Linked DNA regions of Homo sapiens: region 1 is linked to region 2. The links are contacts of gene promoters, found by promoter capture Hi-C in human tissues and cell types (Jung and others, 2019). All regions are on one chromosome and are shown on one strand. Each heading gives the region's core, a stretch centred on a gene start or on the middle of the fragment in contact. The rest is flanking DNA. Distances are from core to core; before and after follow the strand shown. Region 1 holds the start of CAMSAP1 (calmodulin regulated spectrin associated protein 1). Region 2 holds the start of BRD3 (bromodomain containing 3).

Region 1 (5,058 bases), core at 2,193-4,692, 1.8 Mb after region 2:
ATGCCTGTAATCCTAGCACTTTGGGAGGCCGAGGCGGGCAGATCACCTGAGCCCAGGAGTTCGAAACTAGCCTGGGCAAACAGACCCCATTTTTACAAAAATAAAAACTGTTTAAAGAAAACCCCCATCTCTACAAAAAATACAAAAGTTAGCCAGGCGTGGTGGTGCACCTGTAGTCCCAACTACTCGGGAGGCTGAGGAGGGAAGATCACTTGAGCCCGGCAGGCGGAGGTTGCAGTGAACCGAGGTCACACCACTGCACTCCAGCCTGGCCGACAGAGCGAGACCCTGTCCTCCACAAAAAAAAAAAAAAAAAGGAAAAAAGAAAATTACACACGAGGCTGAAGCAGGAGGATCACTGGAGCCCAGGAGTTGGAGACCAGCCTGGGAAACACAGGCAGACTCCATCTCAAACACCTGGCCTCAAGTGATCATCCTACCTCTGCCTCCGAGTCACTAGAATTGTAAGTATAAATTACCACACCTGGCTTAAAAACTTTTTTTTTTGTAATTACATATGCTCCCCCTGTGAAGCAAACTATAGAATGTAAAAGCCCTCTCTCGGCAAAAAGAAGTGGAAACCAGCCAGGCGTGGTGGCTCACACCTGTAATCCCAGCACTTTGGGAGGCCAAGGCAGGCGGATCGTGAGGTCAGGAGTTCGAGACCAGCCTGGCAATATGGAGTAACCCGTCTCTACGAAAAATACAAAAACTGGCCGGGAGTGGGGGCGCACGCCTGTAATCCCAGCTACTTGGGAGGCTGAGGCAGAAGAATCGCTTGAACCCAGGAGGTGGCGGTTGCGGTGAGCTGAGGTCGCGTCACTGCACTCCAGGCTGGACGATAGAGCGAGACTCCGTCTCAAAAAAAAAAAAAAAAGTGGAAACCAGACCTCCTAAAATCGGAGTCTGATGTGCGAAGGCACTGTCACCCACCAGTAAGGGGCACTCCAGTCTCAGCTCCTAAGATGGTGTCCAGTCTTCTCCAGCTCCTGTTCATGTTTCTTTTCTTTAAATGCCCACCTTTTAATAATTCCAGAACTCAAAAGCCCATGTTAGTATCAGATTGTGAATTCATCATCCGATGAGTCAACAAGGATTAAAGAGTGACCTGGTACCGGAAGTGAAACTAGACGAACCCAATACTAACACAGAGACACGCGTACTTATTTCTGGATGGCTGACAAATCCCATGCTGAATGCCAAAGCTAAATGCAATGAAATAAAAAATGCATGCACCTTGCTAAAGAAATTGGAAAGCAGATCGTGAAAGTTCTTTTTATAGCAATTTGTCTAACATCCGCTGCCTGAGCCCTCAGCCCTCTCCACATATAAAATCTTAAAAAACATGCAGGAGTAAAACTTTGTGCTCGGATCCCAGGAGCCATGCCCAAGAATGCACTGGGCTCCACAGCACCTACGGGAGCCCAGCCAGCGCCCACGAGCAGCTGCGGTGAACAGTCCTCAGTGAGACACTCCACAGCAGCGGAAATGTGGAAAAGTGAAGATGAAGTCAAGAAGAACCTAAGAACGTAACGTGGGATAAGGGAATAACAAAAGCCAGTCTCAGAAAGAGACATCATTGGCAAAGGTGTAAAAACTAGTTCGTGGTGTAAGCACATGCGGCAAAATACAAAGAAAAGCAAAACAGTGACTAACACAAGGTGTGAGGCAGGTGAGCCCACGCAGCCGGCAGTGACTGCAAGATACCCAGGCGTCCGCTCTCGGGCTGTTCTTTGCACCTGACTCAAGTTTCATACCTACATCTTACCAATTCCGTTCTCAAAAACTCATGTGAAGTCTTGGATGTAGCAGTGTTTCTTCCTCATTACAACACAGAAACTAAGGTTCCACTGAGCCAGTAAACAAGAACTGTAAAACTGAAAACTGTCAAAGGAAAAACTCTTTCCCAATTACTACTTACACAGTACAAAAACCAGTTTGAAATAAGGCGAGTTATTTAATCCCTAAAACTTACAAAACGCGTTTGTCCTTATGACTAACTCGAGTCTAGCTGGGGCACAGGCCACTGTCAAACAGGGCAACGCCTACTCAGCGTTTTCCAAACTGGTCAACTGAACTCTTCTCTGGAAGGGCTGTCTCCTTTAGTCTTACTCTAAAAAGGGTAATTTTTCACCAGAATAAAGGCAAATATTTTAAGAATGCTTCAAATGAAAAGAGGATTGCAGAAATATTAACCTTTAATTGTACCTGAAACAAAGCACCTGAAATTAATAAAGAAGTCAGCCACTGACGAGAATCACTAGGTCTGTCCTGTTCCCAGGGCACGAAACAGAAGCGTCTTAATCCACTAAGCACATTAGGGCCTAACAAACTGGACTGAGTAACAAGGTTACCTAGTTCTTCCAAACAGGAATTAACCAAAGGGGATCATTATGATTAAGCACAATGCGCGGAATACGCAATTTCTAGTTGGGGAATTCAACAGCTGACAGCTTGTAAGCATCAAAATTCATAACAAGTGCAAGGCTCGGAATCACAGGTCCAGCACTGGACGATGCCCGGCGCGCCGGGAAGCGGCGCCTCAGACGGCGGCCCCGCGTCCCCATGGTCCCTCCCTGCGCCCAGAACCGGGCAGCTCCTTCCCGCCGCCGCCGCCGCCAACGGGAGGCTGGGGGCACTCCCGAAATAGGAGCGGAAGCCCCGACCCACGCCGCCCTCCGCCGCAGGGACGCCCACTCGCCAGGTGACCGCGTCCCCACGCTCCGCGTTGCCCGGGCGCCGCCAGGACCTCGGAGGCGGCCGGCCCAGCCCCGACCCTGTGCGGACGCGGCACAAAGGCGCGGCGCGCGGACCCCGACCCGGCCGGACCCCGGCCGCGTCCCCCGGCCCCGGCCCGCGCCCCTGGCCCCCGCCCCGCGCCCCTCACCCGGCCCACCTCGGCCGTAGGCCTTGGCGCAGATCCACTGCAGGTTGGCGGCGATCTTGGCGCGCGCCGCGTCGTAGCGGTCCAGGGGCACGAGGTCGGCGGCGCCGTCCGGCGGGGCCTCCATCTTCCTCCAGCCCTCGGCGGCGGCGCGGCCGCTCGCGTCCACCATCTGCAGACAAAGGGCTGAGGCGGCGGCCCGGCCGCAACAAAGGCGCCGCCGCCCCTCGCCGCGCCGGGCCCGGTGCGCCCCGAGCCACCACTCGGCCCCGCAGCCGGCCAGCCGGGAGGGGCGCCCGAGCGCGGCCCCCGCCTCACCTCACAGCCGCCGCCGTCGCCGCCCCCGCGGCTGCTGCATGCTGCGGGCGCTGAGCCCGAGCGGAGGAGGTGCCGAGCCCGCGGCCCAAAGAGGCGGCGGCAGGAGGGCGCGGGCCGGGGGCGGGGGCGGGCGCGGGGGCGGGAGCGGGCCGGGGGCGGTGGCAGCGCGTGCGCGGTCCCGGGTGAGCGGCGGCGGCGGCGACAGCGGCTGAGGCGGTGGCCAAGGAGCGGGAGCGCGCTCACCGCCGGGGCCTCGCACAGGCGCAGTAGGCACCGCCCGCCACCCCGCCCTCGACCCCGCCCCCAGCTCCGCTCCCTTCTCGCGCCTGCCCCGCCCCTTTCCGCAGGCGCAGTAGGCACCGCCCGCCAGCCCGCGCCCGCCCCGCCCCTTTCCGCAGGCGCAGTAGGTGGCACCCGCAGGCCTGTGCCTGCCCCGCCCCTTTCCGCAGGCGCAGTGAGCGTCGACCCGCCCCTCCCCGCCCGCTTCCGCAGGCGCAGTAGGACCCGCCCTGGTCCGCGCCTGCCCCGTTGCTTTCCTCAGGCTCTAAGGCCCGCGGTGTGGAGCGCGGCGTAGGCAGCGGGGAGTGGGCGGCGCGGGGTGGGTGGAGTGGGTCGGCGGCGGGGATCCTGCCGAGCCCGCAGCTGCCCTCTTTTAGCGCCGTGTCTCCTCCCCGGCCCTGGCTCGTCCCACCTCAGCCACAGCCCGGCCCCCTGGCCGGCCGAGGTCTCGCCGCCGGCGCCCTGGGGACCTCGTGGGTGTGGCCGGCGGCGACCTCGGCAGGCGACAGCCCAGCAGACGGGCACCAGGTGGACGTGCCAGTCTCCAGACCCCCGTCCCGGTGCAGGGAAGGTGGGCGTTTGGACCCCTGAGGCAGAAACAGGTGCGGCCCCGCCGGCGCATCCCCCGGAAGGGACGCTGACTTCGTTCCCCTGGAGCCTGCGTCGGGGCCCGCGCTGGGCTGAGAATTACGGGAACGCCGTGAGAGTTTGCATTCCGAGGATTTGGTCTGAGAACCTCACCAGCGAAATAGAGAACTGCCCCCGGGAGAGCCGGCCCACGTGCCGCCCACCGGCGCCTTGACGGCAGGGAGAGGTCGAGCTTCCAGGGAGCGGGCGCCCGGCGCGGGGCTCCCAGCCTGTCTGTACCTGGTCGAGACACCCCGTGCCAGAGGCGGAACATGTATGAAATGCCAGGTGCCCAGAGGACCCAGGCAGTCCGTCATTCACATACCAACCCACGTGCAGGCTTCAATTCAACCTTGAAGCCATTTGGGCCTGGGCTTTTTTGATGACTTATTTGATTCATAGTTTTTTGGTTACTAATTGAGTCTCTTCACTTGTTATAGGTCTGTTGAGATTGTCTATTTTTTCTTGAGTCAGCCGTCTGAAAAGAACACGAGGTGGACAGGGCAGAGCGGTCAAGGAAAGCCATAGGAGGAGGGCACTTATTTGAGCAAAGACCGGCGGGACGTGGGCGTCGAGGGTAAGGATATCTGCAGAAGTACTGTCTTGAGCAAGGAGCACGGCAGACAGAGCCTCTGAGACACGAGAGCCTGGAGTGTAAGAAACACAGTAGAGGCCACTAAGTCGAGAACGCAGGAGCTGGAAGGACTGGTAGGAAATGGGAGGTGGGGACATGGAGGGATGCAGACAGGTCCTGCACAGTCAGAACTGTGGCCCCTTCTCTGCAGGAAATGGGCAGCCTTCGGAAGACTGAGCACACGGAAGGATATGACTAACCCTTTAAAAGGGTCATTCTGACTCCTGGGTGAAGAACAGACTAGGAAGGGCTGAGGAGGAGGCAGGAGGCCATCTACTGTTATATGGGATGTGGAGTGTGACCCGGAAAGGTCAAG
Region 2 (5,103 bases), core at 843-3,342:
CTTTCTGGGTATGACTACTTCGGAGTGTAGGGCAGGCACTGTTTGCAAGTCCCGTCCTTCATTCAAAGCTCACTCACTTCCGAAGCAGGCGCGAGCTGTTGTCAAAGGAAAGTAATTACTCTACTTTCTAAAAACAAAACAAAAATAAAAATGGAGTGACTGCCCACTCGGAGAAAGCTTTTGAAATCCCTCCTCCCCGGATGTCCCAACGGCAGGGCTCAGGCTGGAGCTGCTCCCACAGTCTTTCCAGGCACCCGGTGCCCTGCTGAGGCACCGGGCCTCTGAGGCTACCCGGAAGGTCAGAAAGAAATGCCCCTCGCTCGCCTGCAGCCCGTCCTGTTACAGCGTGTGCCTTATCTTTCATGATCAGTAACCACCAGCACCCATCAAGGCCTCAACAGAGAAAACGGCAAACACAGACCTTTATTTGCAAATGAGAGGCTGCATCAGGGCTGCCAGGGAAGAACCCGGAGGGAGGGCTCCCTAACCCCCGAGGCCAGCCCCTTGCAGGGGTTCAGACCTTCCTTAGACCCCGTTGGAAGCCAGTAACAAACTACTTTCCCCAGAAAAATGCCATACAACTTTGCATAGATTCCAGGATCTCCCCAGGCATACTACATGGACCCAGGAAAAAAAAAAAACCCTCCATTTTAAAGAAAAGAGTAAGGGGAAAAGCCTACAAAAGAGCAGGGTAAAAAGAAAACTCTTTTCCTCTTCTGTTCCTTCTCACAGGGTAGGGCGGGGGAGGACGGGACACACGAAGCTGCCTCTTGCAGTTCCAGCCCAATTACTCTGCCCACCAATGCACTACAGTCTCCCCTCCTGGTTAACTTTTGCAGACAATGACCAAGTTTAATGTAAGGGGGAGAAATCCCAGTATCTATTTCTGAGCAGAAAGCTTTCAACCAAAATTAAAGATCGCAACCACTCAAGGATTGGGTCGAACGGAGGAACCCACACGATGGACGCCGGGTCCCTGCCCCCGGTGGGTCTCGGCGGGCCGAGTTCTCGCCCTCCAGGGAAAGGAGGCCGCGCGAAGCCCCCATCCCGGCCCTGCCCCCGAACGAGCAACCGGTGGAATAAGACTTCCCGCACGCCCCAGCTTTATTCACAGAGAGCCCACCAGGGCCATGTGGGTGTACACGGTTCGGGGTGCGCATTTCTCCCCGGATGGGCTTGTATCACGTTGTCACTCCGGCGCCCCCCAAAAGTGGGAAGGAGGGGAAGCACCCCCGTCCCTCCCGCTCCAACTCGCCCTCGCCCGGATTAAGCGATTTTCAGGCTGATTTCAAAACGGGAACTGGGTCTCCCCCTGGTTTGGGTGCAATAATCCGGCAACTCAGGGGGGCTCAAAGTCAGCTCTGGGCCCGTAACTCTGGGAGGAGGCCGCGCAGAGCCCAGGGCCGAGCCCGGCCTTGCCCCCCGCCCCGGCCGCGGCGCGCGGCGACGGTCCCCAGGCGCGGGCCCCAGCAACGGCTCGGGAGCGAGGCCGGCGGAACAGGCGCGGGGAAAGTGGCCCCGCGGAGCGCACGGCCGCAGGCCGGGGCCGCCGCGCGCACCTTCCCCCTCCGCGTCCTCCCTGGGTTCCCCCTTCGAAAGATGGCGGGCGGAGGAAAGGGGGAAAAAAATCCCTTCCGTGAGGGAGGGCGCGCGGAGGCCGGGCTGGCGCGGGGCGCGCGGGCCGCGCCAACTCCGGGCTGCGCGCCCCGGCCGCAGCGACGCCCCGAGTCCGGGACGGAGGCGGCCAAGCGGGAGCGGGAGGAGGGGAGCGGAGCCCGCGCCACCGCCGCCGCCACCGCCGCCGCGACCCCGGGCGGCCGCCGCGCTTTGTTGCATCGTGGCCGCGCACAAAGGCGGCGGCGGCGGCGGCGGCCCCGGGCGCCCGGTTCACCCGGACGCGCCGGCGGACTGCGCGGGGCGCTCGGGGCCGCGCTCCCCGGCCCAGCCCGGCCCGCCGCCGCCCGCGCCGCCCGCCGCCCCGCGCGCGCAAGGAAGCAAGAGAAAGGCGTACTTGGCCTCGCGGCTCCGGCGGCCGTCCCCTCCCGGCCCGCGCGGCCGGCTCCTCTTTGGCTCGCCGGCCCCGGCAGCATAATAGACGCGCCGGAGCCGAGCAGGGCTCATGCGCTGCGCCGCGGCGCCTGGCGGGAGTCGTAGTCCGCGGCCGGGCCCGCGCCGGGGCCGCCCAGGGGAGGCCGCGGGCGCGCGGACTACATGTCCCGGCCCCGCCGGCGCCGCGCCCCGCCCCGGGGGCCCCCGCCCGCCCCGCCGACCCGGCCGAGAGCGGGCCTGGCCCGGGGGGCGCGCGGGGGCGGGGCTCGGCGCCCGCCCGGCAGGGCAACAACGCTGGGACCCCGTGGGCCGTTCCCCGCCCGGGCCCGCACGGCTCTCCTCACCCCGTGTCGGGGACAGCGCCTGGCGGCGGATTTTCCGGTGCCCCAGGACGGCATGGAAGAAGCGGGCACGCAGCCAGCACCGCAGCCCCCGTCCGGGCACCCCGAGGCCCGCGGGAGCCACCCTCGAACCCCGGCCGCGCACGGGCGGGGCGGCGCGCACCTGCCGGGAGCCCGTGTTTGTAAACAAACCGCGCGCCTAATTAGCCTGGCGGGAGCGCGCGCGCGGGGCGGGGGGCGGGGCGTCGGTGCGCGCGGGCAGGTCGGCCCCGCCCGGGGAGGAGCCGCGCTCTGCCGCGCCCTCCGTGTCACCATCTCCCCCACCCGACTTGCTGGGGCGCGGGCGCCCAAGTTCGCTGTTGCTGGAGAGGGCGCCAAGTCCCCAGAGCTGGCGAAGAGTTAGGGGTGCTCCCAGCTCTGCCTGGGGACCTTCTCGCCCCAAGCCCCGGTTTCCCCATCTGCCCAGTGAGGGGCGGGAACTAGATACCAGGTTCCCAGCCTGAGATTCCGGGAGAGGGCCACCCCTGGCCCTTTTTCTGTATCTTGAAAGGTTCAGCCCGTGGACACGTTTTGCATCTTGTTTTGGGTGATGACGACTCGGGTTTACACATAAATCAAGTTGTGGGGGGGGGGGTTTTGTTGTTTTTTTGGTTTTTGTTTTTTTTTTTTTTTTTTGAGACGTTAGTTTCGCTCTTGTCACCCAGGCTGGAGTGCTGTAGTGTAGTGAGTGGCTCGATCTCGGCTCACTGCAACGTCCGCCTCCCGGGTTCAAGCCATTCTCCTGGCTCAGCCTCCCGAGTAGCTGAGATTACAGGCACCCGCCACCACGCCCGGCTAATTTTTGTATTTTTTAGTAGAGATGGGGTTTCACCGTGTTGACTGGGCTGTTCTCAAACTCCTGACGTGAGATGATCCGCCCACCGCGGACTCCCAAAGTGCTGGGATTACAAGCGTGAGCCAACGCACCCGGCCACATAAATCAATTTTAATCCAGCTGTAACTTAAGGTGGTTACACGTTGTGTACATTAGACCCCAATAAAAACGTCAAAAACAAAACGAGGTTCCTTGGTGCCTGCTGAACCTGCCAACTGCAAGGTCGAGTTTCCTTGTGTGGGCTGCACCCACCCCAAGCCCCTGGGGTCCCCAGGTGTGTTCCAAGTTGAGCAGCAGCTCCACTGCCTGAAATGCACACATCTATGCAATATTCACAAAGTGAGTGCCAGCACAGAGACAATTCATCCCCATGCTCACCCAGAAGGCAGGTGTTCTGTTCCAGGCTGACAGGTAAGGAAACAGGCTCAGTGAGGCAAAGGGTCCTGCCCAAGGTCACAGAGCCAATTTGCAGGACGGCTGAGACCCAAAGCCCCGGGGTCTTAGGAAGAGTTTGCAGGGGAAGCCAACACCTTTCCCAATCCTGTCCCTCTGTTTCTGCTGGGAGCCCAGGACCTTCTCACACTCCAGGGCAAGGCTCTAGGACGAGGTTCCAGCCTTGCCTTTCTAGTTGGCAAAATGGACAAAGTGCAGTCCTCAGGCGCAGGAAGGTCGGGGAGGGGGAATATGAGAGGTGAGGATCTGCAGGCAGTTCCCTTAGAACTACCATCCTGGTTGTGTCCCCAAACCCCCGGTGCAGTTCCTCAACCTACAGGCTTCTGTGTTAGCCACCTTGGAGGCTGCAACCCATTCCTGCTGTCTGCATCTCATCTCCTTGGGTATCTTGAGCACTCTGACCACCAGGATGGCCACCTCACCACTTACACAGACCCCACTGCACTCCTCCCAAGGCTAGAACAAAAAGCCTTTCCGCCTGGTCTTGACCTCAAGGAACCCAGGTACATGCACACAGCAGGCTGCCCTGACCAGCCAGCGTGTCTGAGGCTGCTGACCAAATGCCCCCAACCCTTATGGGCCTCCCACTGCCCTAAGGTGACCCCCAGGAGTATGGCAGGAACCCAGGCGCTCCCTGGGCACTGGCTCTGATGGAAGCACCAAGGTCCCCTTCTTTCCCTTCCCGCTGCTCACCCACACATGAGTGGCCCGGATGGCTCCATGGAGCCAACTTTCCCGAGGCTGGAGAAGTCTCTAGGAAGCAGAATCTGTAAGGGAACAGGACAGAAACTCTCATTTGAGCATCTCAGCCCCTGTGCTACTATCTCTGAAGACTAGTTTAGGGGCCACAGTGGCAAACAGCTGAAAGCCAGCAGGGCTGCCATTGAGAAGGGATTTGGGGTGGCTCTGCAGTCCCCTCCAGCCCCTAGCAGCCCATCATCCTCTCCCTTCCTGCTCAGGCTCTTGGAATTTTAACCTCTGGTACTGCTGAATTTCCCAAGTGAAGCCACTTAATCTCCCCGACCCAGGTTTCCTCCCCTGTCACAGGAGGATAAAAATAGAACCTGATCCCGCAGCTCTGGTAAGGGAGGGGGGCATGTGCAAAGGTTGGGGCTGTGATCAGGAGCAGGCTGCTGCCTTTGCCTCCTTGGCCATCACTCACCTCTCTACCTTCACGTTTTACTTCCTGAGCCTCCTTGTGGGCTGTCTCACGGCTCCATGAGAGCAGAGCACTTTGTCCATGAGGTATCCCTAAACATCCTTCAACAGTATCTGGCACCTAGTGGGTGCTCAATACATAGTTGTTGAATGAATAAATGTTCTCTTCTGCACCTCTGTCCTGCCCTCCAGCCTCCATCTGCAAACCTCAGTGTAGCCCAAGCTCTA

The links. Contacts are between HindIII fragments. The study calls those that stand out against the background at their distance.
Region 1: the fragment with the promoter of CAMSAP1 here is called in contact with the fragment with the promoter of BRD3 in region 2 in 1 of the 25 tissues and cell types used here (lymphoblastoid cells).

The regions. Positions count from the first base shown.
Region 1 is chr9:135,904,104-135,909,161 of GRCh38, forward strand. It overlaps CAMSAP1 (calmodulin regulated spectrin associated protein 1), which reads right to left and starts at 3,443. Exons shown (of 17, transcript NM_015447.4): 1 at 2,897-3,443. The coding sequence starts at 3,056. It overlaps CAMSAP1-DT (CAMSAP1 divergent transcript), which reads left to right and starts at 3,730. Exons shown (of 2, transcript XR_007061860.1): 1 at 3,730-4,816. RefSeq lists an enhancer at 736-1,935 and silencers at 2,582-2,631, 3,032-3,101, 3,182-3,291, 3,332-4,011. The HindIII fragment of the contact is 39,877 bases long and covers 1-5,058 here.
Region 2 is chr9:134,065,934-134,071,036 of GRCh38, forward strand. It overlaps BRD3 (bromodomain containing 3), which reads right to left and starts at 2,093. Exons shown (of 12, transcript NM_007371.4): 1 at 2,012-2,093. RefSeq lists silencers at 1,539-1,788, 1,969-2,698. The HindIII fragment of the contact is 16,877 bases long and covers 538-5,103 here.